Regions from separate parts of the Homo sapiens genome. Here region 1 is linked to region 2. Evidence: promoter capture Hi-C in human tissues and cell types (Jung and others, 2019). All regions are on one chromosome and are shown on one strand. Each heading gives the region's core, a stretch centred on a gene start or on the middle of the fragment in contact. The rest is flanking DNA. Distances are from core to core; before and after follow the strand shown. Region 1 overlaps CLEC4E (C-type lectin domain family 4 member E). Region 2 holds the start of AICDA (activation induced cytidine deaminase).

Region 1 (3,260 bases), core at 385-2,884, 75 kb before region 2:
CCTGAGGTCAGGAGTTCAAGACCAGCTTGACCAACATGGCGAAACCCTGTCTCTACTAAAAGTATAAAAAAATTTGCCAGGCATGGTGGCGGGTGCCTGTAGTCCCAGCTACTTGGGAGGCTGAGGCAGGAGAATCGCTTGAACCTGGGAGGCAGAGGTTGCAGTGAGCCGAGATTGCGCCACTGCACTCCAGCCTGGGCAACACAGCAAGACTCCATCTCAAAAAGTAAAAAAGAATCTGGATGAGAAATAACAGATAAGTGAAACTGTAAGATCATGAGGATTATCTACTGATTTTTTTTTGTGGTAAAATATACATAACATAAAATTAAACTGAAAAAATAACCTTCAACAGAAAAGGAGATCCTCAATAATTCTTTCAAAGTTTATCTACTATTATTGGTGGCCAAATTTATTGAATATATCTAGCGCAAAATATTATTAATCACAGCTTAAAGAAAACGGACAATATTTGCTTCTCTTCTTTCATATAATATGTTCATAAACATAACGATTCGTCTAAAATTAACACTTCCAACCCTCTTTTTCCCCTTGCCTAACTAAAGGAACTCCACATGGAAATTCCCTTTTTCTTAGGTTCTTCTAGGAAGGAAAATAAATTAAGGTAGGCAGTGACTTTACCGAAATAGTAAGAACAGCATGCATTTTAGTACATTCATTAACAATAGTCATTGGGGGTCAAGCACTGTGCATATGTATGAAAAGAGAGGTGGACCATGTCGGGAATGTTACATTGGCATCGGAGGACTCCAGCTACCTGCTCCTCCTGTGAGTTGATAACCACCAGGTGAGCCCCCATGGCTGAGCAGTTCTTTAAACTTAACGCCCAGGAAATGGTGTCAGTAGAAAAGAAGTAGCAGCTGGATTGAAAATATTCCCAGTTCAATGGACAACAATTCTTGACTGAACCTAGGATGAGAGATGTTTCAGTGAGTGTCCCAGGTGAACCGAATAAGAAAACCCAAAGCTTCATCTGGCCCCATGGAGTCCTCATTTAAGTCAGAAGCCTTGGAATCACTTGTTCATACCCTACATCTTAGTATCTAAGACTTTAGATAATTCCAATGTCAAGAAACATAAACAGAATGTTTTTGGTCTTTTGAACGTAATTCTCATTCTCTGGATGTCAGTGCCAGGAAATGCAACTATATATGCAAACTATCTTAGTTATGCTATTGATATAGAACCTTATTATCTGTTCTTAGACTACTAATGTCAGAGAAATTTATGCATTTTATTTGGGTGACCCCCAAAGAGCCATCTCTTATGTTACCTAAACAATGTATCCTCAATCAAATCTCCATACTGTAGTATATAGATGGGTTAGATGTGGGCGGCAAGCCACCCAGGCGCTGAGGCAAGAGACAGAGGACACGAGCTGTTCCAGTATAATAAAATATAAAACAAGAATAGTTATACCAGATATAGATCTTAGATATGATTATATATGAATATCATTAATCATTAGTTTGTAGCAATTACTTTTTATTCCAATATTATAATAATCCTCGCTCTATAATCATAGCCAAGGAAAAACCAGGCCGTACAGAGCTACGAGCTGAGGGGACATAGTGAGGTGTGACCAGAAGACAAGAGTGCGAGCCTTCCGTTATGCCCGGACAGGGCCACCAGAGGGCTCCTTGGTCTAGCGGTGACGCCAGCGTCTGGGAAGACGCCCGTGGCCAGGCAGACAGACTGTGGTCTAGCGGTAGCGTTAAGTGTCAAGGGAAAACACCCGCTACTTAGCAGACAGGAAAAGGGAGTCTTCCTTTCCCTGGGGGAGTTTAGAGAAGACTCTGCTCCTCCACCTCTTGTGGAGGGCCTGACATTAGTCAGGCTTGCCCGCAGTTATCCGGAGGCCTAACCGTCTCCCTGTGATGCTGTGCTTCAGTGGTCACACTCCTAGTCTGCCTTCATGTTCCATCCTGTACACCTGGCTCTGCCTTCTAGATAGCAGTAGTAAATTAGCGAAAGTACTAATAGTCCCTGATATGCAGAAATAATAGCGTAAGCTGTCTTTCTCTCTGTCTCCTCTCCCTCTCTGCCTCGGCTGCCAGGCAGGGAAGGTCCCCCTGTCCAGTGGACACGTGACCCACATGACCTTACCTATCATTGGAGATGACTCACACTCTCTACCCTGCCCCTTTCACCTTGTATCCAATAAATAACAGCGCAGCCAGACATTCGGAGCCACTACCGGTCTCCGCGCATTGGTGGTAGTGGTCCCTTGGGCCCAGCTGCCTTTTCTTTTATCTCTTTGTCTTGTGTCTTTATTTCTACATGCTCTCGTCTCTGGACACAGGGAGAGACCCACCAACCCTGTGGGGCTGGTCCCTACAGTTAGATTTCTTAGAATTACAGAACTTTTGCCTTTGAGGTCTATTATAAATAATTCTTCTAACTTCTCTCAATTTAATGGTGAGAAAATTATAGCTCAGAGAAGGAAGTCACTTTTTTAGTGTCATGTAGCATTTTGCTAGGACTTGCAACAGGATGACATAGAAGAGCATAGAGAGTATATTTGTGAGATATTTATAAATTCTCTACTCCATACGTTTTTTCTCCATCTCATTTTGGAAGTAGGTGAATGAAAAAAAAGGTACACTCCTGGGAATAATACCTTCCACTTCCAGATTTACTGTTCAGACATACCCCTCAAATTTATTCTAAAAGTTTACTATAATGTCCCCAAGACTTTCTGCCCCAATGCTAATTGCATCACCAAATTTCTAGGATTTTACATTTTGCTTTTGAAAAATAAGACCTAATCCAGCTATATCTCACCTGTCCCAAAGTCAATCTAGAAGCCAGAAAATGTTGCTTTGTAAATTTTGATGTTCACCTTTGGGACTATTATACCTGATCCATAATTGTAGCAGGAGAGCTCTGTGAAATTCTCAGGTAGCTGAAACTTTTTCTCATCACAGGTTTGAAAGATGCGAAATGTCACTGTAAAAGAAAGGGCATAATGTTTGTTAGTCTTATTTCGGTTAAAAATGTCAGTTCCCTCAGTTTTGTATTTATAACAAAAGTGCCAATAATTATCATGTTTTTTCTTACAATCTGCTTTTTCTTACGACCCAGAGAAAATAGATATGTTTGCACTACCTCTTATGCCAAGTCCAACTCTCTCTACCCTTCCTTCCAAAAGTAATTAGTCATATCTCTGGTGCCGACCAGTAGTTCAAGCTCTAAGGCAGACTCTCCTAGAGAAGGTTACACTAATGATAGAGGCTGAA
Region 2 (3,324 bases), core at 39-2,538:
ACTGCTGATTTTACCTTTGCTTTCCATTTTACTTTGAACAAGTATTTCCAATGGACCCTTCACAAGGACCTATAGCTCAGACTTGTTTTCAAAATCTCAGTGTAAACTGAGGAGACATTTGACATTGTCTGACCTCAAGAAAATTTTCTGAAGAACATTAAATCCTCCATTAAAAATCTTTATTCTGTATATTGGATGTGATGGCTCATGTCTATAATTCCAGCACTTTAGGAGGCCCAGGCAGGAGGATCGCTTGGGCCAGGACTTAGAGACCAGCCTCGGCTGGGCTAAGACCCTGTCTCTACAAAAAAATATATTTTTAAAAAATCTTTATTCTGTAATGTAAGTTCTTTATAAAGGAGTTAAATTGAGGTAAAGTATAAGGATTAGGTGTTATTCTCATACATCCATAGTAATCATAAATGTAGGAATAGAATAAGTTCTATGACAATAACCTATCAAAAACTGCACATAAAGACATTATGAGGACCTTAACCAAATTCACACCTAAGAGGTAAGTTAAGCTACGTCTGAACAAATGGAAAGATTAGTTAATAGTAAAAGTGCCATTAACTGCCTAACAATTGGGCCTTTAACATTAAATAACTTGCTTGAATGAATTTGTCTCCTTATAATGGACACAATCATAGTGACTTTCAAGCAATTAATTTAGAATGCTTGGCATTTCTAAAATTACAAATTTTCTTACTATAGCTAAATTATTTCAGTAACGCCTCCCTAGGAAAGTGTGTCTTCAAGTTGTTTTACTGTTGAATATTTACAAAATTATTACGAAAATTAGCACTACCGTTTTTAGTACAGTACTGCTATTACCTTTTCATGATTTGAGTCTCTAAAGATTTGCTATGTTAATATTATTACCATAAATTAGTTTCAACCATGGTACAAATCTCAGGACGAATCAGTACATTGTACGCACTACTTCTTTTGCCACATGAAAAAGAGGGAAATCAAGAGAAGTCTGAAACAGAAAGAATTGGGCTGACAGCGTATAAGATCTGAATAGAAGAAAAGGAGACAGATCAAAAAATATATATGCATATTGATCAAGCTGATCTTATCAGTCAGACAGTTACATGAGAGAAAGGGATAGCTACCAGTCTCATTACTCAGATTTGCTCTGAGAGGAAGGCCAGTGCAATCACCCACGAGAAGACTGCCTCTTTACCTGTCCATAGTGGTGTCCAGAGTGTCTTCTTGCCTCCCTGCAAGTCTCAGGCCAGAAAAATCTCACTTCAATTAATGATGGTTCTCTGTCTTAGTCTGACAGTGCATTGGCCCTTCACATTCAAATTTGAGCTTGCCCTTTTGGGCTCCTCCCCTGACAGCATCACCCCCACCAGGTACCCCAACGGCCTTGCTCCTGATTTGGATCCAGTGAAGATGGGTGGGTGGGGCTGTCATAGGCAGAGTCACACAGGTTAAACCATTGAGGGCAGCTCTGCTTTAATGTTTAGGTTCCTTTGGGGCTGCTGCTCTAAAAGCCCAGTCCATGCTCCATAGCTAGCAAAGATCAGGAGGCAGTAACAGTAGACACTTCAATTATAATCATGATAACACAAAATAAAAGCACAATGAGAATAGTAATATTTATGTAAATACCTTAAAGAGCATTTAAATAGCTTCTTGGGTTATTGTGTTGAAGAGCCTCAGATAGCCTCTAATTCCCCCATATTCCCACAGTCTCTCTGAACCTCAGTACAGACAGGCACTAGCAGCTCCTGCTTTGCAGTTAAGCAAATGAACTCAGTTATATAGAATTTAGAACACAAAAATTTTGCCTCCCAAACCATGGATTTTTTTCTTTCTGATTGCATTACAAGAATTGCTTGAAGACTAGATATTTACACCAAAGAGTGATTTTTGCATGAGCCATCTTTTTTAGAAAAAAAAAAAATCCTTAATTTGGAGTCAGAAGCAGCAGCAGTCCCCCAAAATACAAAAATGCTTGTTTCACCAGACAGATTCAGTGTCTAACTGGCTGCACTGAATTTGGAAAACAGGCTAAGATCTTCAAATAAAAGACTTTAATTTTGTGCTCTCATAGAACTTGGTCTATTAAAGATTTTATTTCTCTCTCCTACTGTAGCCCATATGCATTCTATTTATTCACTGAGTAGATACTTCATGCCTACTGTTAATGGAAACTATGCCAGGTGCTAGGGATGCAATGCTAAGCAATGCAGCTAGGGTCTCTGCTCTCTTCCTGCCTCAAGCCTTTGATACCATCTATACCTTGATGATTTTCAAATCAATAGCCCTAGCTTGGACCATGTATTCGTCTGTTCTCACACTGCTAATAAAGACATGCCTGAGACTGGGTAATTTATAAAGGAAAGAGGTTTAGTTGACTCACAGTTCCACATGGCTGGGGAGGCCTCACAATCATGGCAGAAGAGCAAGGGACATCTTACATGGTGGTAGGCAAGAGAGAGCTCACGCAGGGGGAAATCCCTTTATAAAACCATCAGATCTTGTGAGACTTATTCACTATCATGAGAACAGCATGGGAAAGACCCACCCCCATTGTTCAACTACCTCCCACTGGGTCCCTCCCATGACATGTGGGAATTGTGGGAACTACAATTCAAGATGAGATTTGGGTGGGGACACAGGCAAATCTATCAGACCACTTCTTGAAACTCAAGACAAGTGTATCCAGCTTCCCTCTCAGAATCTCCATTTGGATGTCTGAGCACCTCCAGCCTGTCTAAAACAGAACCCCTGTTCTCTGCCTTACCTACTCTTCTTGCCGTCTTTCCCATCTCAATAAACAGCAGTATTCTTCCAATTGCTTGGCAAAACCTGGGCAGAGTGTCTCTCAGCTCCTCTCTTTCTTTTAAATTCCATGCACACTCCATTAGCAAATCCTGTTATCTCTGCTTCCAGAATATAGCCACAAACTGACCACTTCTCACTACCTCCAGGTCCAAGCAACCTGGATTATTGCATTTTGCTTCCCAACTGGCCTTCCTGCCTCCCCCTTCTTCGATTACAGTCTGTTCTCCACATGGCAACTAGAGTATTCCTTCTGGAATATTTAAGGTCATGTCACTCCCCTGTCATAACCCTCCATGGCTTCCCATTCTCTCAGTATAGGCCAGCAGCCTGAGATGGCCCACAAGCCCCTCTACCGTCTGCTCTGCTTCACCCCTCTGGCTGCATCTCCTTCCACTCTCTCCCTTGCTCACGCAAAGAGCGCACACTCCTTCCTCTGCCCTTGAGGTCCCTCTGCTGAAATGTTATTTTTTGTGTATGGTTGTGGCTTACACCATCATATATTTTATGTCCTTATTCAAATAC

Evidence for each region. Contacts are between HindIII fragments. The study calls those that stand out against the background at their distance.
Region 1: a contact is called between a fragment that was not itself captured here and the fragment with the promoter of AICDA in region 2, in 2 of the 25 tissues and cell types used here (aorta and liver).

The regions. Positions count from the first base shown.
Region 1 is chr12:8,536,337-8,539,596 of GRCh38, forward strand. CLEC4E (C-type lectin domain family 4 member E) reads right to left here. Exons shown (of 6, transcript NM_014358.4): 3 at 2,881-2,970; 4 at 779-930. Among named protein-coding and RNA genes, the nearest start is that of CLEC4E, 2.9 kb to the right of the region's middle. The HindIII fragment of the contact is 4,467 bases long and covers 1-3,260 here.
Region 2 is chr12:8,611,571-8,614,894 of GRCh38, forward strand. It overlaps AICDA (activation induced cytidine deaminase), which reads right to left and starts at 1,289. Exons shown (of 5, transcript NM_020661.4): 1 at 1,190-1,289. The coding sequence starts at 1,197. The HindIII fragment of the contact is 12,992 bases long and covers 1-3,324 here.